Regions from separate parts of the Homo sapiens genome. Here all the other regions are linked to region 5. The links are contacts of gene promoters, found by promoter capture Hi-C in blood cells and fetal thymus (Javierre and others, 2016). All regions are on one chromosome and are shown on one strand. Each heading gives the region's core, a stretch centred on a gene start or on the middle of the fragment in contact. The rest is flanking DNA. Distances are from core to core; before and after follow the strand shown. Region 1 has its middle 2.9 kb from the start of RN7SK. Region 2 overlaps CILK1 (ciliogenesis associated kinase 1). Region 3 overlaps GSTA4 (glutathione S-transferase alpha 4). Region 4 overlaps FBXO9 (F-box protein 9). Region 5 holds the start of MCM3 (minichromosome maintenance complex component 3). Region 6 has its middle 42 kb from the start of GCM1.

The links. The method cuts DNA at HindIII sites, captures the fragments that hold promoters and counts their contacts. A CHiCAGO score of 5 or more calls a contact.
Region 1: a fragment that was not itself captured here is called in contact with the fragment with the promoter of MCM3 in region 5 in 4 of 17 cell types (naive CD8 T cells, naive CD4 T cells, total CD8 T cells and 1 more); the score reaches 6.1 in naive CD8 T cells.
Region 2: a fragment that was not itself captured here is called in contact with the fragment with the promoter of MCM3 in region 5 in 8 of 17 cell types (total CD8 T cells, activated CD4 T cells, non-activated CD4 T cells and 5 more); the score reaches 8.2 in total CD8 T cells.
Region 3: a contact is called between a fragment that was not itself captured here and the fragment with the promoter of MCM3 in region 5, in 1 of 17 cell types (total CD8 T cells). The highest score is 5.4, in total CD8 T cells.
Region 4: a fragment that was not itself captured here is called in contact with the fragment with the promoter of MCM3 in region 5 in 1 of 17 cell types (erythroblasts); the score reaches 6.2 in erythroblasts.
Region 6: a fragment that was not itself captured here is called in contact with the fragment with the promoter of MCM3 in region 5 in 1 of 17 cell types (naive CD4 T cells); the score reaches 5.3 in naive CD4 T cells.

Annotation. Positions count from the first base shown.
Region 1 is chr6:52,996,311-53,000,680 of GRCh38, forward strand. No RefSeq gene overlaps it. Among named protein-coding and RNA genes, the nearest start is that of RN7SK, 2.9 kb to the left of the region's middle. The HindIII fragment of the contact is 6,462 bases long and covers 1-4,370 here.
Region 2 is chr6:53,053,271-53,058,085 of GRCh38, forward strand. All of the region lies in intron 1 of CILK1 (ciliogenesis associated kinase 1), which reads right to left. Among named protein-coding and RNA genes, the nearest start is that of CILK1, 6.1 kb to the right of the region's middle. The HindIII fragment of the contact is 905 bases long and covers 1,531-2,435 here.
Region 3 is chr6:52,981,614-52,985,719 of GRCh38, forward strand. It overlaps GSTA4 (glutathione S-transferase alpha 4), which reads right to left. Exons shown (of 7, transcript NM_001512.4): 4 at 3,838-3,970; 5 at 2,851-2,992; 6 at 961-1,092. Among named protein-coding and RNA genes, the nearest start is that of GSTA4, 12 kb to the right of the region's middle. The HindIII fragment of the contact is 577 bases long and covers 1,068-1,644 here.
Region 4 is chr6:53,080,569-53,085,129 of GRCh38, forward strand. It overlaps FBXO9 (F-box protein 9), which reads left to right. Exons shown (of 13, transcript NM_033480.3): 6 at 400-530; 7 at 1,936-2,050. Among named protein-coding and RNA genes, the nearest start is that of FBXO9, 17 kb to the left of the region's middle. The HindIII fragment of the contact is 1,949 bases long and covers 2,157-4,105 here.
Region 5 is chr6:52,281,942-52,286,155 of GRCh38, forward strand. It overlaps MCM3 (minichromosome maintenance complex component 3), which reads right to left and starts at 2,801. Exons shown (of 17, transcript NM_002388.6): 1 at 2,656-2,801; 2 at 1,353-1,465; 3 at 712-920; 4 at 104-234. The coding sequence starts at 2,733. RefSeq lists enhancers at 2,679-2,758, 3,079-3,278. The HindIII fragment of the contact is 4,216 bases long and covers 1-2,925 here.
Region 6 is chr6:53,188,993-53,193,491 of GRCh38, forward strand. No RefSeq gene overlaps it. Among named protein-coding and RNA genes, the nearest start is that of GCM1, 42 kb to the left of the region's middle. The HindIII fragment of the contact is 1,652 bases long and covers 658-2,309 here.

The sequences.
Region 1 (4,370 bases), core at 1,561-4,060, 710 kb after region 5:
CTGACAGGAATGTCAAGTCCGTCAGGAAATCCACATAAGGGTGTTAAGCAGGCAAAGTACCACATACAGATTAAAATCAAAAGCACTGTCAACGCTTATTTAATTTATACAGTAGACCCTAACTTTTCTAATTTTGTGTATACATATATATACATGTATACATGTATACAAACATACATATTTTCTTCTTTCTTTCTTCATCTCAGTGGGACATCTTGAGATTTCTCTTCATTTTGTACATTTTAGAGACAAGTGCTCTATAGTCACGGTCTCAAGTCAGCACCTGTTTGGAAGGGGGTCTTTGGAGTTGGGGGTGGTGCTAAAAGAATAATTTGGCTGGCAAGTTAGTTAAAACATTAAAAATATATTAAAACTATCAGGGCTATATTATGGAACAATTGCAAAATTCACATGGATTTCAAAGTTTGAAATATATGCCTTCGAAAATAAATTTTGTTTTTAGAGGCAGCTTCTGCTATTTCTCAGGCTATAGATGTTGTTATTTTCTTCACCCACGGGGGCGCTCGAGAGTACCTTGCTTGACAAGCCTGGGTGCTGAACAATTGCAGCCGCTAACATGATCAGATTTTATTTTCAATAGGTTTCTCTGGCCAAAGTGAGGCGAATGAATTGGGGTAGTAGGGGTAGAGAAAGAAACCTCTTGTGTCTGTGTAAATTAAAGTAGCACCATGAGTTTGAAGAATATGAGTAAGAAAAGGTGAAATACTAAGGAGGTAGGTGGTAAAGCAATTGCTAATCAGATCAAAGGGAAGGGAGGAGGAAGAAAAGTCTAGAATGATGCCCTGTCCAACACACACACACACACACACACACACACACACACACACACACACACACACACACACTTCTTGTCTTTTTTTTAATAACATGTATTGTCATCTAACAGGACTTTTTTATTTATTTGTCTGTAGATTCCTAGAATGTAAATTCCACGAGATCGAGGATTTTTGCGCTTTTGGTTTTCCTTTTGTACATCCTGGTTAGTATAGAGTAGGTATTCAGAGAACACTTGTTGAATGAATGAATGAGCAATGCTTTGGTTTCTAGTTCCATAAAGAGCGGAGAAGGAAGACAAAGTTTGGGGAAAATGGGTTGACTTGTCTTTTGTTGCTATGAACCATCCAGCTGGAAATACCCACTAGACAGTTGAAAAAGCCATTGAGGGCTGGGCGCAGTGGCTCACGCCTGTAATCCCAGCACTTTGAGAGGCTGAGGCGGGCGGATCACCTGAGGTCAGGAGTTCAAGACCAGCGTGGCCAACATGGTGAAACCCTGTTTCCACTAAAAATACAAAATTAGTCGGGCGTGGTGGCCTGTTCCTGTAGTCCCAGCTATTCAGGAGGCTGAGGCGGGAGAATCGCTTGAACCTGGAAGGCGGAGGTTGCAGTGAGCCGTGATCACGCCCCTGCAGTACAAGCTGGGCGAGAAAGTAAGACTCCCTATAAAAAAAAAACCGAAAAGACAAAAACCAACCCAGTGAGGACTCAGTAGAGAGAACTGAAATCGGTTGAATTGGTGGCAAAAGAATGAGCTCATCCAGAGAAGGTATGCAGGGTAAGAAGAGAGGTAAGTCAAGGACCACTGGGCACCCCAAAAGTCAGAAAAGTCGTTTTCAAAAAAGACTTAACAGTGTATATCCAATCATATTTCTAGTTCTGATTTAACAGCAATTACTCAGTTTAACATGAGTAGGAAGCCATATTTTCCAGCCTTGCTGAAAGTGGTCATTCTTTTTTTCTTGCTTTTAGTTTATAATTAAGGAAGGTTTATTGAACATCTGTGCTGAGGTCTACTGGATTTACTGAGACATAAAAAATAAATTATAAAATCCAGTTCTTGCCCTCAAGGAGCTTATTTTTTAATTGACAAATAAAATTGTATATTTTTACTGTGTACAACATGATATTTTAAAGTACAGTCATCCCTCAGTATCTGTGGGGGATTGGTTTCAGAACCCCCTCAGCTACCAAAATCAGACCATGCTCCAGTCCCTTATATAAAACGGTGTAGTATTTGCATGTAACTTAACACACATCCTTTGGTTTACTTTAAATCATCTCTAGATTTTTTATGTTAACCTAAATAACAAACAGAAAGAGGCTCTTTAAAAATATTTATTTGGAAATTGAATTTTGCAATAGGAATATGCATGCCATAGTAAATTATGTGTGTATTCAGGGAGGTAAAATAAAACAAAGATTTTTAAAGGACAAAAATGACGATGGCATAATTGTTTTAAAATAAGTATCCTTTGCTGCAAAGATGAATAACAAGGGCAATAATCCCAGTATTTTTTTGTGTAAGACTGCAATGGCCATTGTGGAAGGTTGTGGTTCTTATAGTCTTTTGTGATCGTGTGTTGTTGTTGTTGTTGTTGTTGTTGTTGTTTGTTTGTCTTTTGGAGACAGGGTCTTGCTGTATTGCCCAGGCTGGAATGCAATGGTGCGATCAGGGCTCACTACAGCTTCGAGGCTCAAGTGATCCTCCCACCTCAGCCTCCTGAGTAGCTGAGACTACAGGCGCATGACACTACTGGCTAATTTTTAGTTTTTGTAGAGAAGGGGTCTAACTATGCTGCCCAGGCTGGTCTCAAACTCCTAGGCTCAAGTGATCCTCCCACCTCTGCCTCTTAAAGTGCTGTGATTACAGGCATGTACCTCTGCACCTGGCTTTTGTGATTGCTTTTATTAGACATTTAAGCCAAGCACTTGTCTCCATTTGCTTAGTTCCAACTGGTTGAATTATACCAAATTGCTAATATCTTACTGTTTTTAACCTTCAAAAATGGCAGTTTCAGATGTCCAATCTTATAAAATAGAGGCAACATCATCCTAGAGTTAGGGAAACAGGAGTGTAGGAGAGCCAGGGTGACAGCATTTTAAAATCAACTCCATCTTACAATGAGAACACATAGACACAGGGAGGGGAACAACACACACCAGGGCCAGTCGGGGGGTGGGGGAGTGAGGGGAGGGGGAGCATTAGGACAAATATCTAATACATACCGGGCTTAAAACCTAGATGATGGGTTAATAGGTGCAGCAAACCACCATGGCACACTACACCATGGCACAACTACACGTTGTGCGCTTGTATTCTGGAACTTAAACTAGATTAAAAAACAAAAAAATCAGCTCCATCTTAAGATGTCTACAGCTGAGGAAATAGCTTAATAATACCTGGAAGGACAAATTCCTATGACAGTAGAATGTCCAGATGTTCCAATATTGCATAATGCTAAACACCTTTAAGGTAATTATAGTCATGCTTTCACGTATTTACGCATGAAAATGCCAAGGATACCTTTCTTTAAATTAACAAAGTACTAATTTTTTTCATTCTGTTAGCCCACTCGCACGTAGACATTGCTTAGCTTACCTTTTACAGAGATAAGACCCCTATCGAATAAAAACAAAGAAGAGGCATTCCTCCTCTTGCTTTCTGAGAATGCTCTACTCTGTAACTGAGTAGCTTTCAATAAAATGTTACTTCTCATGGCACTGGGTGACTCGCCTTACATTCCTTCCTGTGCGAGATCCAAGAACCCTCTTTTAGGATCTGGATCAGGACACCTTTTTTGGGTAACACTCAGCCTTGTTCACCTGAAAGTGTAACTAAGGTAGCAGCATGACTGCTATTACACAGGCTTGGGGAGAAATGAAAACTCCTGTTATAATAGTTCTGGCACTCTATGACAGGTACCCCAAAGGCATTTTATTCCTTTGAAGCCCCTGACATCATCAACCTACTTGTTCTTGAAGACCCTTAGAGTTGCCCTCATCCTGAGACAGTCTTACTCATTTTATCTATCTATTCTACCTACCTACCTACCCACCTACCTACCTGATACATTTTCAGAGGCCCTGAGAAGTCTTCTTAGCCTCAACCCTTCACTCATCTGCTCAGTAGTAGGTAAAATTGCTTGCACAGAAGTCAAGAGCTTCAAATCTCAGTTTAAGAGCTTTGTATACTCCCAGAAGAGGGAAACATTTGACTTAAATTCAGCCTTAGCTATAAGCGATTGGTGTAAGACCCTATTCTAACAAGTGGGTTTTCTTATCAGGAAAGATGGTTGAGAGCTTGAAATGGCTTCTTCAGGGTTTCTGAAGGGGCAACATGGGCCCAACGTGATGCCAAAAAGACAAATGCCCATGACTACACAGTAAAGTCACTGTTCTGATGGCGAGAGGCACACTTAGGGATTCACCAATGCAAGTTTGATTGGTAGATCATGTTCCTAGAAAATCCTGTCAAGGAGTCAAAGAATGTTTAGAAAATGAATTTCCTGTGACATTCTTTATGTAGTTCATGAAGTTATGAACTTCTTTTGAAGGTTTATATTGTATATG
Region 2 (4,815 bases), core at 733-3,232, 770 kb after region 5:
TACCTTGAGAATTAGCATGTATTTCTAACTCGCAGTATTTCTAAATTCTGCTTTGACTCCAAGAATTAACTTGGATAAATCATTCACTACAACGAATCTACACTTAGCACCCTCATATATCAAATATGCCCAAAACATGATAATTTTAGTACTTAGTATGTGCATAGTACTATTATAAGTGCTTATGCATATATTAGTACATTTAACCCTCATAATTCTACCAGGCAGGTACTATTACAATTATCCCTATTTTACAGAGAAGGAAACTGAGACACAAGTTACATGTCTAGATTATACGACTAATGTGGCAGAAATGAGACAGGAACCCAGGCTGACTGTACCAAACTTAAGGGAAAGCTTTCAAAAGATCATGAAATCTTTGGAGGATCTGAAAATGACAGGAACAGAAGTAGTACTTTGTATCTCAAAGCCCAAATATGAAAATGAATGATATGGCTATGTTCTAATTGTCTTCATTCTGCAATCAAATATCAGCGAATCCTCTGGAGCCATTGGCAGCACCAACATGCCCACAGTGGAGGCAAAGTGAGGGACTGGTTCCAGTTTCCACTCAGCACTGATCTGCTGTGCCTCGGGGCATCTCTTGGTCCTTGAGTTTACTTTTGGTGGAATTAGGGCATGGGACTTGCTCTAAGGTGGTTTCTTCCTCTAAAGCTGTGTGATTCTGTGACTCTGTATCAGGAATTGAGCTAGCATTTGTCTAAGAAAAAAAAAAGGATAAATGTTTCTGCTTTTTGCATCACATGAACAAAGGTTAGCGGAGAAGACAGTGCCACCGAAGGACCCTGTATGCTACACACCTTTCTTTCAAGAGATGCACAAGTGCCCCAGTGCCTCAGCCAGGCCCCAGTAAACATTAAACATCGATTCCTTCTCTTTCGAGCTCACATGTCACCTCTTCCAAGCCTCCTGCCCCAACCTACACATATAGACCCGAGAATGGTCCTCTCCCTTGATGCCATAGTGCCTTGTCCTCACCTCACTGCCAGCCCCTTCCCCGTGGCAATGACCTGCAGGTGTACCCTCTGCTTCAGCCTCGACACTCTCCAAGACTGCTTCATCTTTGTCTTCTCACTCCACTTGCAGTAGCAAGTCCTCAAAGATTGTTTGAAGGGCCCAAATGTGAGTTTTAGTCTTTGCTATTATTTTCTGTACCACCTTGGCTAAGTACCTCAAAATTCTCAGTGCTTCTATTTTGTCATACACAAAACAAAGATAAACTGTTGGGCCCAACTAAAAGTTCTGAAGTTCTGAAGTGGAAGAACAGTGAATACCACAGAATAGCTGGGGCAGGCAGGCAGCCTGGGCCCTCCCACAACAATGCCAAGATGACTGAGTCTCAGAGGATCACAGAAAGTCCCCCTCCATGCGGTCAGATCAGGCCTTTGGCCTTTGGGTAAGGCTGTACTCAACTACCAAAGAAAGACAGCTTTATCTCTCTTTCAAAGAGTTCCAGCAAACCTTTGAAGTCAATGTTATGATGTTCCTGGCTAGGTGACATTGGGGAAAAGCTTCCTGTGATTTGCCCCAATTCCCTCCCCTCAGCGTCAATCCTCGGTGGAGGCAAAGAACATTTGCTCATGGCCAGCAGCTCACATCAGGTGCCTTGCTCATTCACAGCCTAAAAAATGGAGGCGAGGGGCAGGGAAAATTGTAGTTCATTCTTTATTTTGAAACCTTAATCAATGAATTAATGCCATCATTACACATTTTCTAAGACAGGAGACAAAAAGTTACAGCAAACTTGGGGTTCTCTGGGAGTTGTGGTTTACCAGGCCCACTGACACCATTCAGTTCCTTAGAAGGAGCTTGTCTCCCTTTGCATTAATTATCTTACATTGAAAAGATTCTGTTACTTTCATTTATCCTCCTAGGAAAAGTGGATTATATGCAAAATCATTAGATGACCCTTCTCATGGTAATTCTGAGTTCCATTTTACCTTTACAGGTTTATAATTAGACTTCGTATTCTAGGTTTGAATGTGTCCTAACTTTACAAAAGTCAGTGAATACTGTTAATTTCTTTTAAAAAGGTACTAGAAATAGTATATCCGGGTTTATGTTTTTCTCCTGGACCTAATTCTTCTGCCTCTGTACATTTTAGCAAGCAAACCTTTTAAGCATTTTGCCTCTTGGACTACTGCTTTTTTTCTGCATAAGGAATAGCAGTTACAAAGCCAAAAGGACCTTCTTTACATGGATCTTGCTTTGTCTTTACCTTGACAGAGGAGTGAATTAAAGATGCATTCAGCTATTGCATCAACTGGATGTTAACAAGAGAAGATAATCCGTTACATGATGTGCCTTCTTCTGTGCCCCAGAAACTTCTTCATACCTTTACCATCCCTCTCCTCTTTCAATCCCAGCTTCTGAAAAAAGAACTCGTCCTGCACTAGGTCCTTAATCCCATGAGAAGCTTCCATAACTCCCTGTCGCTTCTCTTACAATATAAAAGGTGCTCACGCCTTGAACCTTAAAAAAGTTCTTCAATCACTTGCAGATGATTTTTAAACTAGGACACATAGTTGGCTTTGGTGGACTGTAAAGAACTGAAGTAAAGGCGAAATGTTAAAAAAAATAAAAAATAAAAAAACAGCCAGAAAAACAAACCTTTACCCTGCCATGTGTGAAACTGTAGATGAGCTAGAACGAGAGTCCCCAGCTTAATGAAAACTGCCGAGGGTGGCAATAGTCCTGCTTGCCTGTGTTTCAGGGGTGGGCAAGATAAGGGATAGTGAAGATAGGGGAGTGACTAAGAGCATATCACAAGTTCATGTAGATAGTAACTTTCATGATACTGGCAAATAAGTAGCTGGACGTTACACAATAATACTTTACCTTTCTGGTTCTAACGCATTATCTTTTACGGTAGTTACAAGGACAGCCACATGTTATCAGTATTTATATGCTATTACAACACATTTGACTAAGGAGCTGATCTCAGTGTAAGATGCTTTGCTAGCATGTATACAAAAAATCAAAATGAATTAAAGGAAGTAAAGGCTTAATGTAAAAATAAAATAGGGCAGGGATAAGCACGTTTTTTCTGTGAAGGGTCAGTAAACAGGATAGGCTTTGCAGGCTCTCCATCTCCGTCACAACTCCACTCTGCCATTGTAGCATGAAAGCAGTCAAAGACAATATGTAAATACATGGGCATGGCTGTGTTCCAGTACAAATTTATTTACAAAAACAGGCAGCAGGAAGGACTGGCACACAAGCCATAGTTTGTCAAGCCCTGAAGATGAGGAAATCCCCCAAATAAGCAGAAGCACTTTAGTACTCTCCATAGAGCCCTCACTTACCCCTAGGTTACAGGGCTACATACAAGCTGTGTTTAACCTTAGAATATAAGCTCTGTGAGGTCAGAAACGTTGCAATATTCACAACTGTATTCCCAGTACTCAGTTCCCAGAGAACTGGCATAGTTGGCACAAGTACGGACTCACAATAAAGACATGTTCAATGAATTAACTAATGAATGAACAACTTATGGAGCTTTAAAAGGCAATCCTGACCATAGATGATTTTCCTATACTACCACGTCCACCCTCACTGTCATCCCGTCACGCCCCACTTCTTTGCAAACTGGACAACTGTACTGGGACTAGGGTACCAAAATTATGACTCCTTCTAAAAACTTTTACACTAATTTAGGAAAAAACTTGCTTTTCAACAGCTAAGATCACATGAAGGCATGTATATCTTACATTTTTCTTACTCCCCTTTGTCTTAGTTAAATCATTCTCTAGTAAATTCTCTTTCAAAGCAAAGGCAATGTCCAAGAGGGCAAAACCATTAATAACTATCTTTTGGGAACCACAAGTTCATGCAGATAGTAACTTTCATGATATTGCCAAATACGTATTTGGGCATTATACAATAGTACTTTCCTTTCCGGTTCTCAGGCATTATCTTTTATGGTAGTCAAAAGAGCAGTCACATGTTATCAATACTTTATCACAGGTCATGCTTCACCTATAGAAAGGTAAAAAATAACTCACACTGATCTCTCCTAAAAAAACGTGTGGTTCTCATAAGCTCTGGGCCATCGTTATACATTTATTAAGTGGCTACTAAGGGTTCTTGACATGGTGGGAAAAGCACCAAATGAAAAGCAAGGCACTATTGTGGCCCTTTCATTTCAAAAAAAGTGAGTTAGGATGACAATCATCTGCTAGGAACTACAAGTTCACGCAGATAGTTACTTTCATGATATTGTCAAATATAGTTGGACATCACACTTATAATACTTTATCTTTTGGTTCAGAGGCATTATCTTTTATAGCAGCCATGATGAGCTTATTTAAAGATAAAATATAACTGAATGCTAATTAACATAGATTTGAATGCTAAATTCATTAGGAACTATGTTCAAAGCCTAATGTTGAACAAACTTCAGACAATAGAGTTAAGAATTTTTTTTTTCTGTAAAGGACCTTAATGATCACTTGACATTCTCACTCTACAGATGAGATCCAACTAAGAAGAACAGAATACTTGCTATCTTCAGAGTAGAATATTTTGAAATGTGTGAGTATAATACATGTTTTATAGCCAACTAAAGATGTATCAAATGTTCCCCACGTGCTCCTTGGTAAAAAGCATATGAATATTTTGCTAATCCTGAGCCCATATAGTTTAAAAAAAGGGGGGAGCAGATGTTTGAAGATGTGCTATCCTCAAACTCAAACATGACTTCACATGTCAACATATGTTGGATTTGATTTCAGCCTGCTCAGGTAAGTCCCACGACAAGACACTCTTCCTACCCAGGAAGACTTCAACTTTCAA
Region 3 (4,106 bases), core at 106-2,605, 700 kb after region 5:
GTAAAAATTATTCTTAACTCACAAGCTGTATAAAAACAGGTGGCAGGCCAGGTTTGGCCCAGGAGTTACAGTCTGCACATTAGACTTGGAGATAAAAGGCTAAGGTTCTAGATAAAACTCAAGCATCCACTGCCTAAGCCAGCTTGGCTGCTGATTTCTTTATTCTGGGTCTCTACTTCCTCAAGTGAATATTGAAGTCATTAAATGAGTTTTTTTTTAAAGGCCCTTCTCTCCTTTAAAGTTCTATGATCAATCCTGCCAGAATAACCCTGAGGGATAATTTGAACCACACAAGTCTTTCCTTGGAATTCTCAGAAGGAGAATGGTAGGAATCCTTTGGGGTGATGTTTAGGGTGCTAACATCTCTCATTTGCTCTCAGAGCTCAGGCTTAGAATTTCCTAACTTGAGACCATACTATTTCTGAGAAAGGGAGTCATAGCCTGATGAATGAGACTGTTTTGATGTTTATCTCGCCCACTATTCCATCAGTAGATACATGTGAGTGTGAGACCACCTCATCTCTATGGTTATTTCTATGGAAAGTCCCCTGAGGCAAACTCCCTGTGCATGGAGTTTTTTCCAGGAGTGCAGTTATGGAACAAAATTAAGATGAAAATTTCTGAGCTGGGTGTGCTGGCACATGCCTATAGTCCCTGCTACTCAGGAGACTGAGGTGGGAGGATCTCTTGAGCCCAGGAGTTCAAGACCATTCTGGGCAACATAGTAAGATCCCACCTTAAAAAAAAAAAATTTTACACTTCAATGATCTTTCAACTTGAAGGATTTAAGGACCAGAAAAATAACTTTGGGTCCTTACTTTCATTTCATTTGCCAAACTAGAATCTTAAAAATATTACACATACACACACACACACACTCCCCAAAGCCAACCAAACAATAGACACTGAAGGAAGGCCCAAGAGTTCTAGGCCAATCTTCTAATACATAGTTTTATTTACCTGGAGGAAAGGAAATGCAGACAGGATATTAGGAATTTTCTCTTCTAGAGCTAAAATGGTTTGGAGTAAAATCACATCTGCAAGGCTCAGCTGATTACCAACAAGAAAGCTTTGTCCGTGACCCCTTAAAATCTGTAGGGAAATGGTGTGCATCAGTTACAATATTCCACATGGAGAGAGTGATGAGGCTATTGAATCAGTGCAGTATCTGAGAAGAGGTGAAACTATGACCTTGTCATTTCATGCTTTCATAAATAACATCAATTAAGAGAACGCACCCTATATCTGACAGAGAGAGTGAGAGAGAGGGGGAGAGAGAGAGAGAGAGAGCGAGAGAGAGAGAGAGAAAGTACAAAAAAGGTGTGGAAATGAAAGCATCCTTAAATATCTGCTGTGGATCTGAATGAGACATTGAAGTGGGGAAGGGAAAATTCCTTATTTCTGGATTTAGCATCTGGTGTTTTGAAAGGATATATCTACTCCAAAAATGTATCTACAGAAATGCATGCAGGAGGCTTGGGGAGGGGCAGGGTGATTTAAGAAATCTAAGTGATAGATCATCTTCAAGGGGCCCACTCTTATTTCCCAGTTCTGCTGCTAGAACATCAAGAGGTGTAGTCATAAACTCAACCCAATTATAAAATTAGACTTCCTCTTACATGTCCCAAAACAGAGAAAATGAAAAGCTTGAGTTCATCTTGACTCCCATTCTGAGGGTAACGTATAGGTGTGGGGCTTATAAGAATAGATTGTGATTAGGGAGAGGCAAGAAGCAGTAGTAGCAAAGGGGAGATCCCCTTCACAGTCAACTCTTGGATGCCCATGGGTGTCTGCATGTGCACAAGTGTGTGTGTCACAGGGACTCCGAACACAATTCCAGGTCAAATATAGCTACTGGAGCCAGAGTGGCATAGTACAATGCATCCTGAATTTGTAGTCAGAGGCCAGAGTTCCAACCCTGCTCTCCATTTTCTGGCCATGTTACCTTGGACAGGTCACTGAATCTCTTCATGACTTCATTTCATTATGTGTAAAAGGGACAACGGTTCTCACCTCATAGGCGTGTTGCAAGAAACCCTGACACAGTCTGGGCCCTTGGGACCTAAGAATGAGCAGTGAACCTTTGCCAAAGCACCAGGTCCTCTGTGCCCGTTCCAGACCACATTTCTTCATTATCCTATTTTACATTCACAAAGTGCCTGTGGGAAAGATACCATAAAACCTAGCTACAGAAACCCCAGAAAATACCTCTCCTTTTTCCTAAATCTAGTTCCATAAAGATGGTCAGAGGAAGCTTGCCAAATAGGTCTTCCCATATTTTCACACCCTCTTCTTTAGTGTTTGCATTGAAACACTAAAAAAGTTCCTCCCAGTTCAGGAATAAAGAATTTGAAGCTCAGAAAAGCAGATATAACAAGAAGAGAAAAACAACAAAACCAAAAACAAAAAGAGCAAAGGGAAGATAAATAAAATGGAAATGGTTCTTCTACTCATATCGAATTATCAGGGAGGATGTCAGCTGAGACAGCTGTTCGACAACTTTTGTTGAATGAATGAATGAGGTAGTTTTTGTTTTCTGTATCTTCTGAAGTTTCTGCTGTATCCACACAAGGTGGGAACTTGGTGAATGCAAGGAACAATAAGGAACAAAGGCAGGGAGCCCATACTTTTTCTAGACTTCTGAATCATGTGGTCCTAGCAGAGTCCAAGGGGCTCTAAGACACCAGCTTTGTGCTGTGGCTACTATTCGCTCTTAGGAGTCCATTAGCGCTTAGGTTAGTTCAACTGGGCTCAGTTTTAAAATCCTTGGACAGAAAAGGGTGTTTGTGGCAGCTTCTTTGTGGTTTGTGGTTTGGTTGCTCTGTGTATGTAGGCATCTCTGCCACCTACCTTTTCAAACACAGGAAAGTATCTAATTATAGCCTTCTGGGCCATGTTAACCACTTCCTTTTGCTGATCATCTGGTTTTAAGAAAGGATGCATGATAAGCAGTTCCAGCAGATCCAGTGTCCCCTCCACGTACATGTCAATCCTTAAAACAAAAAAGCAGTTGTCTCAGTTTCTCCTCTCTTTGAAGCCATCAGTTTCCACAACTAAGAATTCAGAGTGCTTTTTTTTTTTTTTTTAAAGATGCTGCAACTTAAGTCCCTAGAAGCATTTACCTATACCTGTCTCTTAAGAGCAAAGATATAAGGTCAATTCTAGTTGTAACTCAGAAAAATCTGTCACAGATCAGACAGCTTGACAGTCATGAGTGCTCTCTCTCCTGGCATCCTACTCCTCCACTTTTACCCCAGCATCCATGTTTTGGTCTCTTCGTATGGGTCAAACTTCAACTTTATAAAAATAGTGAATACCACTTATTGAGTGCTTAGAGTGTACCAGGCATGGTGCTAAACACTCTCTATCCATTATCTCATTAAATCACATGACACTATGAGAAATGTACTATTCTTATACCCACGTTGCCCAGGGTCATACATCTAAGGGGTGCAAGGACCAGGCTTTGATTTCAAATTATAATCTAATGCTCACTCTCCCAGGCCTTGAATGTCACAGCAGCTCCTCATTCCTAATACTTAACAATAGTGAATGTGCAAGAAAGGGAAAAAGCAGTATCAAAGCATTTAAAAATGTTGAAATCTGAAACAATGACACCCTAGATATAATATTCAATATCTGAATCCTATTCTTTTGTTTTACTCAGACTCTCTCTACTGAAGTTCCAACTGGTCTTCGTGACCTTCTTGGGTTTTTGTTCCCTGATCTCACTAACTATGTAAGACATAAAGTAAATGTGGTGTGCTACAGAGGTTGCTAATCAGCTAAGGCATCAGTAAGCTGACAAGTGACAACACTCGAGAGGGGCCACAGTACAGGGTTCTCTCCTTGAGGTTCTTGCCAAAGAGATTGTGCTTGTCTGCTATGTAGTGGAGAATGCTTCGGGTCTGTACCAACTTCATCCCGTCAATTTCAACCATGGGCACTTGTTGGAACAGCAGGTGGTTACCTGAGAATGGAAGCCCAGAGTTAGAAGTGATCTTTTCTTCTCTGTCCCCCAACCCCTAAAAAATGCTCTGTGGAATGAAAAGAAACGGTGGAATCATGGCCTTAGGAAATAGTGTAAAGCTTCCAGATGACAGATA
Region 4 (4,561 bases), core at 1,881-4,380, 800 kb after region 5:
TAAGTACCTCAGATGACGTCTGTAGATTTGGTTTTTATCCAGTTAGAATAAATTAAGGTTAAAGAACATACTACGTTAAGATTTTTGAAACCATTTGAAAGCTTGCAGTAACTCATAAAATCTCTACTTTACAATAAAATTAGTTAAATCTCAACACCTGTATCCAAAAATTCTAATTCTTTCTGGATGATAATTACTGAAGCTTTTTTCTTTGAAAAACTTGATACAGTATTCCTTTGCAAGACAGGATAAATTCATCACATTTAAAAATGTATCACATGTTGAATAAGCTTTAGGTGACTTTTTGTAAAGCAAATTTGAAAATGCTATGAAAAATCAGTTTCTAAACTGTACGCTTGTAGACTGAGGCACTTAATTTATTCACCTCCCTTTTTTCAGCATTGAAGATAATGATGATGACAGCAAAATGGCAGATCTCTTGTCCTACTTCCAGCAGCAACTCACATTTCAGGAGTCTGTGCTTAAACTGTGTCAGCCTGAGCTTGAGAGCAGTCAGATTCACATATCAGGTGTGAATACTTGTTTTTCATAACTCAGTGAGAAATATCTTAACCTTAAAGATTTCCAAATTTATAAGGTCAGATAATTTGCCAGATAACTGCTGCTTTAGTTCAGAATATGGTGGAAGATCTAGTTATAATTATCATTTGCATATACTATTAAGCTGTTTTGTGTTTTGTTTTGTCTTGTTTTGTTTTTTGAAATGGAGACGTGCCCTGTCACCCAGGCTGGAGTGCAGTGGTGCAATCTCGGCTCACTGCAACCTCTGCCTCCTGGGTTCAAGCAATTCTGCTGCCTCAGCCTCCCAAGTGGCTGGGATTACAGGCGTGTGCCACCACACCCAGCTAAATTTTTGTATCTTCAGTAAAGACAGAGTTTCACCATGTTGGCCAGGCTGGTCTCGAACTCCTGACTTCATGATCTGCCCACCTTGGCCTCCCAAAGTGCTGGGATTACAGGCCTCTGAGGCACTGCGCCCAGCCCAGTAGTAAGCTGCTTTACAATCTGAAGCAGAACAGTTTGTAGTGCTGTTGTTTAAGGATGCCATACCTTTTTCAGTAAAGATCTAACAGGGTAAGTCTGAGTTGTTGAGGTAGCCCTAAGAAAACTGGAGGAATACTGGTATCATGAAGCATTTCAGCCATGTTGGACAATTGTCCTGAGACAGACTGAATGTTTAGGAATTAATGGATTTTTGTTCGGGCATGGTGGCTCACGCCTGCAATCTCAGCATTTTGGGAGGCTGAGTTGGGAGGATCACTTGAGGCCAGGAGTTCAAGATAAGCCTGGCCAACATGGTGAAACCCCACCTCTACTAAAAATACAAAAATTAGCTGGGCGTCGTGGCGCATGACTGTAGTCCCACCTACTTGGGAGGCTGAGGCACGAGAATTACTTGAACCCAGGAGGCAGAGGCTGCAGTGAGCTGAGATTGTATCACTGCACTCCAGCCTGGGCAACAGAGCAAGAACCTGTCACAAAAAAAAAAGAAATTCATGTATTTTTAATATGTTAAATATTGTTTGGTTCGGGGCTTTTTCAGAGGAGGACAATTAAAAGTTTTCAAGGAGATGAAAATAACTTTAGTGTTAATAGATGCAATATGGATCACACACACATAGATTATTTTCCTAAAACATTTATTTTAATATGTCTGGCAAAATAATCTTATGAGGGAAAAGAGTGCTTTATAAAAAGTAGCTTCAGATCTATACTGAAAAAACAAAGATATTTATGTCTTGATGTTAAGAACCATTATTATTATTGAGTAGCTAAATACATTCATGCTTTAGCTCTGAGCAATACAGAGGGTGTGATTATAAATTTCTAGGAAGGTATAAATGTACTGGGAATGTAGTTGTGACAATAGAATGACATAGAGGAGAGTCACTGAAGGATGATTTTCTTTTGCAGTGCTGCCAATGGAGGTCCTGATGTACATCTTCCGATGGGTGGTGTCTAGTGACTTGGACCTCAGATCATTGGAGCAGTTGTCGCTGGTGTGCAGAGGATTCTACATCTGTGCCAGGTACTAAGTTTTTGTTTTTGTTTTTTAAACAACTGAGGCAATGGTGAAAAGAAAGATGGTCCTTTGCCAATCCTGATAAAATTACTTGATTGGTGTTCTGAGTTAAAGCTTAGAATAAACAAGTTTTGCTAAGCTGTACTTAACTTTCTCAAATAACTTAGAATTTAAAGGCTAGAATATGCTAGGTTTCTAGGGTATAGAATAATATGTAGGACAGATGTAGTAACCCATACTACTACCATAGAGTTTACATGCTAGCTTAACTGATTTGGGAAAAAGAGTTATATTAGAAAAATATATTCAAGTCATTTTTACACTAACTGTAAACTCATTGTGGTAATGGTTTAGATTAAAACAGCACTAGCATTTTCTTATGGCTCATTAAAAGTTATTCTATATTTTGAAAATTTTGCTATGTGTGGGAAAGGACTCTATTCAATAAATGGTGCTGAGATAAGCGGCTAGCCATGTGCAGAAGATGGAAACTGGATCCTTTCCTTACACGACACACAAAAATCAAATCAAGATGGATTAAAGACTTAAATGTAAAACCTAAAACTATATACTTAGTCCTTATATAGAATTTTTAAAAACAACTTGTTCTTAAAATTCAGATGCATTATTTTTAAATTAATTCCATTTGGAATCTTGTAGTTTTCATAAAATATTTGAATTTCTTGAAGACTCTTTTTCACAATTCTGTGTGCTAGTATATTTAACAAGTACCTATTAAACACCTAGTGGATTGCCACTAGAGTCTCTAGCACTGTTATGTCAACCTAAATAATAAGCAGATAGACTCTCTAAAAGACATTTATTTGAGAATAATACATTGCAATGGGAATACACATGCCATAGTAAACTATTCAGGGAAACAAAAGTTTTTAAAGGAAAAAATGAGGATTACATAATTGTTTTGAAATACTTAATCCTTGACTACAAAGATCAGTAACAAGGGGGACGCCAGTCTGAGATTGGACAGACAGTTTCTTGGGCAGATGTCCTTGCAGCAAAAATATTTTTTGTATAAGGCTGTGATGGCCTTTGTGCAGAGCTGTGTTTTTTATAGTCTTTTTTGTTAACCAGTCATAGAAGCCTGAGAACCTTCTCTTCATGGCCTTCCTCAGCTCTCTTTGTCAGGGTTTTCTTAACATTAGTGGCTCCATTTTTATTTTAACAACTTTCACATTTTCCCCTTTTGATCAGTATCTTTCTCTGATCAGTCATCCTGTAGTTAGGTTTTGACATCCCATAGTACCAGCATAGACCAGTCCTGGTTTCTAGTCTCATCCCATGTTGGGGAGAATGATTAGCAACTAGGAGTCCGTGTCAAAATGCTTTTAAGCCACATTTGGGCAAGAAGGGACGTCTGAAGGGAATGACTCTCAGGCTGTGTCTACCTGGATTCCATTATTAAGTTTGATTTTTGTCTATTCCATAGTCTTTGTTACTCAAAATGCTGGGCCAGCGTTATTGTTAGGTGTGGTACTTCTGCAGAAATTTAACAAGTAACAAAGTTAATAGTAATATGACAATTCCAATTTGCATAATGGTTTTGAGCCATGAACCTAGGCTTAAGAACAACTAATTGAGTAGACCAGTGACCACAGGGAATTAGGTGAGACCATGTAATCATGCTACCTGTTTTCTTATTTTGTGTACATGGGTCTCAACTTTATCAGAGGGATTTATCTAGGTACAGCATGTAGTACTAGCAATAGCACAGATATTTTCTTTTTTAACCAATGAATACTAAAGGATTTCTTGGGTTAGGTTCTGTTAAGTTACCAGCAGAAGCTATTGATTATGAAATTTCAATTACACCATTATCCTGTCAAGTGAAAAAAGTAGCATTAAGTGGGGGTAAAAGTCTTATGATATGGTTCTGATGTCATGGGAAAAGCTGTCTACAGCTTTCACAAAAACATCAGATTCTCCTCCTGATTTATGTTTGAATGTCTCTGGTCATGATATTGTTGTGTGGCTCATATATCAGGCATGAGACTTGTTTCTTAAAATTTGAATAGTTTCAGCTTAAAGGGCTTTACGAACAGAAGCTTTTGTTTTTAGTTGGCGTGTTGTAGTCCAATCCTGGAGGAAACTAGGAGAATTCATCAAACAGTCCGGTGTACGTGTGGATAACAACAGGTGTATTGCAGTTTTTTTTTTAAGAAACGTTTTTTTCCTACATTGATCATATAGGAATTTCAGATTTAAAAATCTCTTGAGGCTAGGAAGTCAAAGAGAGGTAGACTTTAGGCTTCACTTAGGGTCTTAAGGTTCTTGGGCCTGCTAGGAAGTGACAGGTTTTACTCACGATAAGGCTGAGAACTCTTAAAGCCGGATGTTTTATGCACATTCTTAAATATGACATTTTCAGTCAAAGCCTTGGTAATATAACTAATGTTTCTAATTGTATCCTCATATAAAGGGATTAGATTTTTATTGAACTTATATAAATAAAAATAATATGAATAGTTTCTGAATTTTGGAGAAATCAAGTAGGGAGAA
Region 5 (4,214 bases), core at 1,551-4,050:
CCTTTACAGAAAAAAGACTTCAGATATTACACAATTCCTTGCCTTAAAACAGGTATCTTTGATTCCAACCTCCAAGACAGCTCAACTGATTTATCCCCCTTACCTTGGTAGGATAGACAGAGCTGGAGGGAAAGGCCACCAGGGTGGTGAGATCAGAATAACGTCGCTCTATGGTCTTCTTAGTAGCAGGACAGTAGTGGACACTGCGGACGACTTTGGGACGAACTAGAGAACCTAGGGATGGAAAATGTGCATATATAAACTCACCCAACTAGACGATGATACAGGTGGAACCCAAACATATGCAAGCCTATAATGACTCCAAATACTGTGTTTTTTTGACTAGGTTACGATATTTCAATATTACCTTTTATTCACTTTTTTATTTATATATAGACCACCACCATATCCATGTAAAATTTTAAGTACCACCAATCCCAACTAATAAATAGGTGGAGTTAGAGGTTGGAATTAGAGATTGCCAGGAACCAAGACTCCTCCAGCTCTCAGCAGAATTCATCATTCTACTAATACATGTGATTACTCAAGGTCCCCCAATCATTGTACACACTGAGCCCTCCAAGTTTTACCACGTAATTCCAATGCTCCACCTCTTTGAAGCCACAAGCTACCCAGATCTACTTTGCCTCTCCTGCTTTCCCCATCTCCCTGTCTATTCATTTCCTAAGCGGCCCCCTTTAACCCACTTACATTTAGTGACAATGCCCTCCACACAGACCACACAGCTGAGGAAGCAGGAGGTAAGAGTCCGCGGGGAGACGTGCTTGGAGCCAAAGCTGCCTTCCAGTCCTACGTAGAACTCCTCATACTGCTTGGCATAGGTAGCATCAATGGAGGCCACAAAATCCTTTAAGGCCCGCTGGAAGGCAACCAGCTCCTCAAAGGCATTGTTCAGAAGCCTGTACATAAGCAAGAGAAAGAAAAATTAGACTGGGCAGAACTCAAAAAAATGGATCCTCAAAACAGCAGACATTCTTAGATCATTAAAAACAATGAGAAAATCCAGCTTCTGCTTTCTCCTATAAGTCTCAGTAAAACACCATCCTATAAGACTCAGTAAAATACCAGAACTAAGGACCAACTTCACCTCAACTTATCAAAGATATAAAAATGATATTCAGCTAAACATTGGAAGGAGGGGCATTTGGGAGGAAAATGCCAACCACCCACTTTTTGAAAAAAAAAAAAAAAAAAATAGGTGCAGGTGAGCTACGAGGGCTTGTAGATCAATCCTGTTTCATACAAGTCCTCTCCTGAGAGGCTGTTCCAATCTGGCCAAGAGGGAAGGGAGCCATTCTCACTGACAGCCAGTATATCCCCTTGCCTCTCACCGGTTAGCCCTCTTCTCGTTTTTCCTGCGCAGGTCATTCACATTGACAATCAGCCGGTATTGGTTGTCACTGATCAGCTCCCGAACTTTGCTCTGATAAATTCCCTGGTCTTCCTGCAAAACAGCCACCACATATCACCATAGCCACAAATTTAAAAACAATGTTTCTAAACAGAAGTAGTTCTCATAGCCAGATAGCTAAGTCAATCTCTGCAGCAGAGCTGAATCCCCAGTAAGTATGTGCTCATCAATTTCTCCCTTTCATTCACTGTTTTTAGATTCGAAATAACACCCTAAGAGGGGACTATAAGAATTATAATGACTTCCTCAAGGTCCATGCTGTTATTCCCATCATCATGGACAACTTTTCTGCATGCTGTAATTTCTGTCTTTAGTGGAGAATTAAAATGAGCTCATGAGAAGTCTAAATGGACAGTAAGTGCAAACTTTGTTAAAATGTTAAGTTAAACCTAGCAATGTGAATGTTAAAGGTAACAACGTGAATAGATGGATATGTTGTTTCACTGTAGTAATCATTTCACCATGTATATCAAAACATGTGCACTTCAAATATATACAATAAAAATGTAAATAAAACAGACTCTTAATAGTCACATTAAAATGGCTTTTCATTTAAGAATTATGTAAAAAGTAATATTTTTTCCAATCATCTCTATAATACGGAAAGGGTTCTCATACCCCGACCTAAAGGAATAGAGAATCTCAGCTATTTGGTCACATCATCAACCCTTCAAGATGGTTTTTTCAACATTCTATGGCTTTAAGTCTTGGGTTGCACATAAAATCCCCTTGGCCTGCACACAAAACACTTTTTATCTGCATCTTAGTTGGTATTGAAAAAGAATGCAGCCGAATTATGGAGTCTTTTCCTCCAGGTAAAACGTCAGTCCCTAAAATCTGAGCACTCTGCAACGCGGCTGGTCACTATAGCCCTAGGGCAGCCCCTCCCCCACAGTCTCCTCAAATCAAGAGAGAGCAGTGAAATGCAAAAGGCCGAGGTGGGCTTTGCCAATCTGCTTGCACTTAATGGGAACCTGTCGCCTTTTGCGCGCCCGGACCATCGCTTGTACTTAAGAGAAAGCTGGCTTCCTAAGAGTTCACTTATCGAACACAAACTAGCGAGTCCGGCGTTGAGAAGTTACAAGATTGGGGCTGGAGGCTCGGGCCCGGCAGGCTCCGCTGCGGCACACGGTCTGGAGGTCTGGCGGGCCTCTGGCTTCCCGGCCGGGCCGCGTCCGCAGGGGCTCCGAGCGCTAGAGCCCGCGCGCCGGCGCCTCCCTCACCTCGTCGTCCAGGAAGTCCAGGTAATCTCTCTGAGCCTCCCGCAGCTCCACATCGTCCAGCACCACGGTACCCGCCATGCCCGCTGCCAAAGAACTACCTCCACCAAAGTCGCGTGGAGGTTCCCAGGATGACTCCACCCCGGCGCGAAAACTTCCGAACTCTTCCCGCCACCAAAGGTTACCTCGAGGAAGAGGCGGGGACCTTGGGAGCATATAAGCATTATGATTGGCTGAGTTCTCTGAGGTCGGACTAGCGACTGTCCAATCAAAAGCTTCTTCTTCTTCGGGTTTTCCGCTGCGCGCCCCGCGGTGGCGGGAAACGTACCATCCGGGATTCTCTGTTCCTCCCCTCCCTCCGCCTCACTCACTGACGAGCAAACTGACCAATAGGGCTGAGAGGAGGCTCACAGAGGCTGGTCATTGAGCAGCTGGAGGGGACAGGCTGGCGAGAGGGAAAGCATTGCGTTCTGGGAGTTGTAGTGTTCTCCCTCCTTTCCGGATGTTTTTGCAGGGTTTTTCAAGCTGCAGAACTTTTGACCCGATGCAACGACCAAATTCAGAGGATGGTGCTTTATAACGCAGGGAGATGAAAACATAAAAGCAAATCATTTTTAAGATATATCCAAATCAGAACTGCCCTCCAGTGGCATCCTAGTGTAAAAGTGGATTTTGAGAATCTATAGGATAGAATATAGAACTACAGTACCTTAGGGAAAGATTAGTTAAAAACCCATTTGCTATCTGATACCGTTGCCTGACGAACTCCATAAAGACATCGCCGCAGAGAAGGATGAAGTGAAAAAAAAAATCTGTGTTTACCCTGCCCCCTAGAGACTTCATCGTGTGTTATACAAATTTTGGAAACCGTTACTACTCCATCTTACTTAATAACAGGTAAATTAAAGGCTTTCTGGTCTTATAAAAAGATCACAAGATCCTTTTAAGTAACTTAGCTTACTGAACGATCAGCTCAAGAGGGGAAAAAGTGTTTCACGTCACTTTGATTAAATATCAATCAGTAACTAACAGCAAATCTGAAACCATAATGACTAAAAGATCATCGCACGTCCAAATTTGTATGTTTGTTTTCAGTCCGTCGTGGTTGGCTTTTTCTTATATTTCTAGTTTTATTTTGAGATATAATGTATATACAGTAAAATGCACAAATCTTAAGTGTACAGCTCAGTGAATTTTTACCTGTGCTTACACCCATGTAACCACTCTGCACAATAAAGAGCAAGCCCATTGCCCCAGCATGTGTTTTTAATTTTACTGAACAAGAAGCTGAAATACTGGATTGCCCAACATCAGACATTTGATAATTCTTTATCTGAAATTTCAGCCAACTATTAGCTTATGTTTTAAAGTCTTCAGGACTCACTATGTACTGATAAATATTCTAAGAATAATCTGCCTAAACAAAATATATAGGCCATCTATTTGTGTGGGTATATGTATTTCTAGTTATTATTCAGTTTATAGTTACTGTATGTTTTGTGCCATCCTAGTGGGCAGATAAATCGATCCTTAGCCAAAGCAAAAAGGCTGTCATTTGACTG
Region 6 (4,499 bases), core at 234-2,733, 910 kb after region 5:
AATATGTCACTAGAGGTTAGAGCTACATCTCCTACTATTCTGCCTAGTAAGCATAATTAAGTAAAATATTCACTAAGTATAATTAAGTAAGTATTCATTTAGTGAAATAACTGAGTAGGAATCTAAGAACTAGGTTCCAGCCTAATCTATACCCAATGTGTAAGATATTACATGGGATCTGATCCTTAGCAAATGTCTTTATATTGATCCACAGTAGATCAACAGAATATATTTTTTAAAGACCTGTTCAAAGTTTTAGACAACTAGGGCCAGGCGTGGTGGCTCATGCCTGTAATCCCAGCACTTTGGGGGGCCGAGTTGGGTGGATCACAAGGTCAGGAGTTTGAGACCAGCCTGACCAATATGGTGAAACCTCGTCTCTACTAAAAATACAAAAAAAATTAGCCGGGCGTGGTGGCACATGCCGGTAATCCCAGCTACTCAAGAGGCTGAGGCAGGAGAATTGCTTGAACCCAGGAGGCGGAAGTTGCGGTGAGCCGAGATCATGCCACTGCACTCCAGCCTGGGCGACAGAGGGAGACTCCGTCTCAAAAAAAAAAACAACAAAAAAACACAAAACTAGATCATACAAAGTTAAAATATAACTTTCTTGAGAGTCATGATTATATTTAGCAACTTAAATCATTGCCACTGAAAAGCTTGGCTTCAGTTTTAAGCAACTAATCTAAAAGCTATGGCACAGAGCTTGCAAGGTGTGGGCTCTAAAGGGTTACATTACATAGCTAAATCATATAGTTGCTTGGCTGCCTTTATGCTAGACATCAAGTCAGGCAACTGGAATTCAACTCCTGGCAACCCCATTTACTACTTAGCTCTTGGACAAGTCACTTAATCTCCTTGCATTTCATCTGTAAAATAAAAATGATAATACATTCCTGCCTCATTCCACCACTAATGTAGGTGGAATAACATAAGTATGCAATAACTCTAAGACTCTAAGGCTCTGTGAAAATGTTAGTTATTTTTAACGTAAACTACAATAATGGTCAAAATGGCCAATATTGGCCAAAGCCACACAGGATCCTTCCCAATCCCTTGAAATCACCTTCTGATAACATTGTATATTATTATATTTTATATATTTCTAGTAGATGGACACCCACCTTCCACCCTCAAGTACACCCCAGCGCCTGTTGTTCACCACCTAGTGTCCATGTGTTCTTGATGTGTAGCTCTGACTTATAACTGAGAACATGCAGTATTTAATTTTCTGTTCCTGTATTAGTTTGCTTAAAATAACGATCTTGTTCTTTTTTTTTTTTTGAGATGGAGTCTGGCTCCATTGCCCAGGCTGGAGTGCAGTGGCACGATCTCGGCTCACTGCAAGCTCTGCCTCCCAGGTTCACGCCATTCTCCTGCCTTAGCCTCCAGAGTAGCTGGGACTGCAGGCGCCCATCACCACGCCCGGCTAATTTTTTTTTTTGTATTTTTAGTAGAGACGGGGTTTCACTGTGTTAGCCAGGATGGTCTCTATCTCCTGACCTCGTGATCCACCTGCCTCAGCCTCCCAAAGTGCTGGGATTACAGGCGTGAGTCACCGTGCCCAGCCAATCTTGTTCTTTTTTATTGGCTGCATAGTATTCCATGGTATATATGTAACCACATTTTCTATCTTTTTTTTTTTTTTTTGGAGACAGAGTCTCGCTCTGTTGCCCAGGCCTGGGCGACAAGAGTGAAATATGTCTCAAAAAAAAAAAATTAGCCAGGCATGGTGGAACATGCCTGTAGTTGCAGCTACTAGGGAGGCTGAGGCACAAGAATCATCTGAACCCAGAAGGCAGAAGTTGCAGTGAGCCGAGATGGTGCCACTATACTCCAGCCTGGGCAATAGAGCGAGACTCTGTCTCAAAAAAAAAAAAAAAAAAAATAGAAAATGTGATTACATATATACCATGGAATACTATGCAGCCATAAAAAAGAACAAGATCATGTCTTTCACAGCAACATGGATAGAGCCAGGGCCATTATCCTAAGCAAACTAATGCAGGAACAGAATATTAAATACTGCATGTTCTCAGTTATAAGTGGGAGCTACGCACAAGAATACATGGACACTGGGAGGTGAACAACAGGTGCGCTAGGGCATACTTGAGGGTGGAAGGTGGGAGCAGAGAGGGGATCAGAAAAAATACCTATTGGGTACTATGTTCATTGCCTGGGGACAAAATTTTCTGTACACCAAACCCCTGTGACACACAATTTACCTATTTAACAAACCTGCACATGTACCATAAACCTAAAATAAAAGTTAAAAAAATGGGAGAAAGAGAGAGAAAAGAATCTGGTAAAGCTTTCTTTTTCTTTTTTTTTTTTGAGAAGGAGTTTCGCTCGTCGGCCAGGCTGGAGTGCAATGGCACCATCTCAGCTCACTGCAACCTCTGCCTCCTGGGTTCAAGCAATTCTCCCACCTCAGCCTCCTGAGTAGCTGGGATTACAGGCGCCTGCCACCACCATGCCCAGCTAATTTTTTTTTGTATTTTTAGTAGAGACGGGGTTTTGCCATGTTGGCCAGGCTGGTCTCAAACTCCTGCCCTCAGCCTCCCAAAGTGCTGGGATTACAGGCGTGAGCCACTGCACCTGGCCTCTAGGTGTATATACTTCGGTAAATAAATATTGATATTCATATGCATTAAAATCCTTGGAAGAATAAAAAAGAAACTTGTTTTAGGAAGGGAATGCTGGGTAGATGGGGGACAAGTGTAGAAAGAAACTTCACTCTGTAATTTTCTCTTAGTTTTTTTAGACATAGGAATGAATTACACATTCAAACATTTTTAAAAATAAACAATTTGGCTGGGCGCGGTGGCTCACGCCTGTAATCCCAGGATTCTGGGAGGTCGAGGTGGGTGGATCACCTGATGTTAGGAGTTTGAGACCAGCCTGACTAACATGGTGAAACCCTGTCTCTACTAAAAATACAAAAAAAATTAGCCAGGCATGGTGGCGCATGCCTATAACCCCTGCTACTTGGGAGGCTGAGGTAGGAGAATCAGTTGAACCTGGGAGGTGGAGGTTGCAATGAGCCGAGATCGCGCCACTGCACTCCAGCCTGGGCAACAAGAGTGAAACTCCGTCTCAAAAAAAAAAAAAAAAAAAAAAAAAAAAAAAAAAATAATAATAATAATAATTTAAATATGAAATGAAAGTAACTCTCTTCTAAAATTCTTATAGTGTGGTTTCTTGGTGGCCACCAAAACCCTTGTCACAACTAGCTCTGGGAGTTGAAGATGTATAGGAAGATAAGTGGTTTATTTTGCTATTTAATCAACTTTAAGTCTCTAACAAGTATACTTTGATTTAATGAAAATGGCAACTCAGCAAAGGATTTAGGGCTGTAATTCAGGATGAAACAAACAGGTTGTGATGAGGAAACTCCCCTGCCTGAGGGGTGTCCTGAGAGGGTCAGAGGCTCCAGTCTAGTGAGATAGGAAAGGAAATGCATTTGCCAAAACGGAATTTAAATTTTTTTTTAACTCTTATTTTAGATACAGGGGATACATGTAGATTTGTTACATGGGTATATTGTGTGATGCTGAGGATTGGGATACGGATGATCCCATCACCCAAGTAGTGAGCATAATTTTTCAAACCTTGTCCCCTTTCCTGCCTGCATCCAAAATAGAAATTTGAAAATAATTCTCCACACACTGCAGTGGATGTTGGCAAGGGAACACCATTGTTTCCTACTTAACCCTTGCTGGATGTGTTTAAGAGTTCTTACCAGATTGCTGGCAGCAAAAACACTAATGTATTCATTCATTTACTTAGATCAATACAGTCCGATTCTTTGCCAAAACCCCTGTGTTACTGCTTGTCCTGTCTCTCGAACAGGGTGTTCTGGTCAAATCAAGAGGAGATCAAATGTCTAGGCCTTCACTTTCAGCAGCTGGAACTGAGTTGAAAAAGAGAGACTGCCCTCTGAAGCGAAATCACAAAACAAAGGTGAAAGGAGAAGGCCATCAACAAAAGAAAAAGAGAAGCTGAATTTATTATCTTTTTGTTTTTCTCCCTGAGGCAATGGAAACAGATAGCAGAGGCGTGGCTCTCCAGGCGACTTCTGTGCTTGCCTGGTCAGCACATACAGGGCATTCTTCCTAGCTTCCAGCCTGCTCTGCAGAGTCCTCCCCTCCTTCCTTCCTCCCAACCTCCCTCCCTTGCTCTCTTCCTTAACTCTTGGCTTCATTCTGGGTTTTTTTGTTTGTTTGTTCTAAATTCTGTTTGCTCTTCGTTCTGTTTTTTCGTTTGTCCTAAAAGTCAGGTTTATTAAAATATAACTTACATAGAGTGAAATTCACCCTCTTTAGGTGTACAGTTCTATAGTTTTATAACCACCCAGATATAGAGCATTTGCATCAAGACATAGACCATTTCCAACTGGGTATGGTGGCACACACCTGTAGTCCCAGCTACTCGGGAGCCTGAGGTGGGAGGATGGCTTGAGCCCAGGAGTTTGAGGCCGCAGTAAGCTACGATCATGC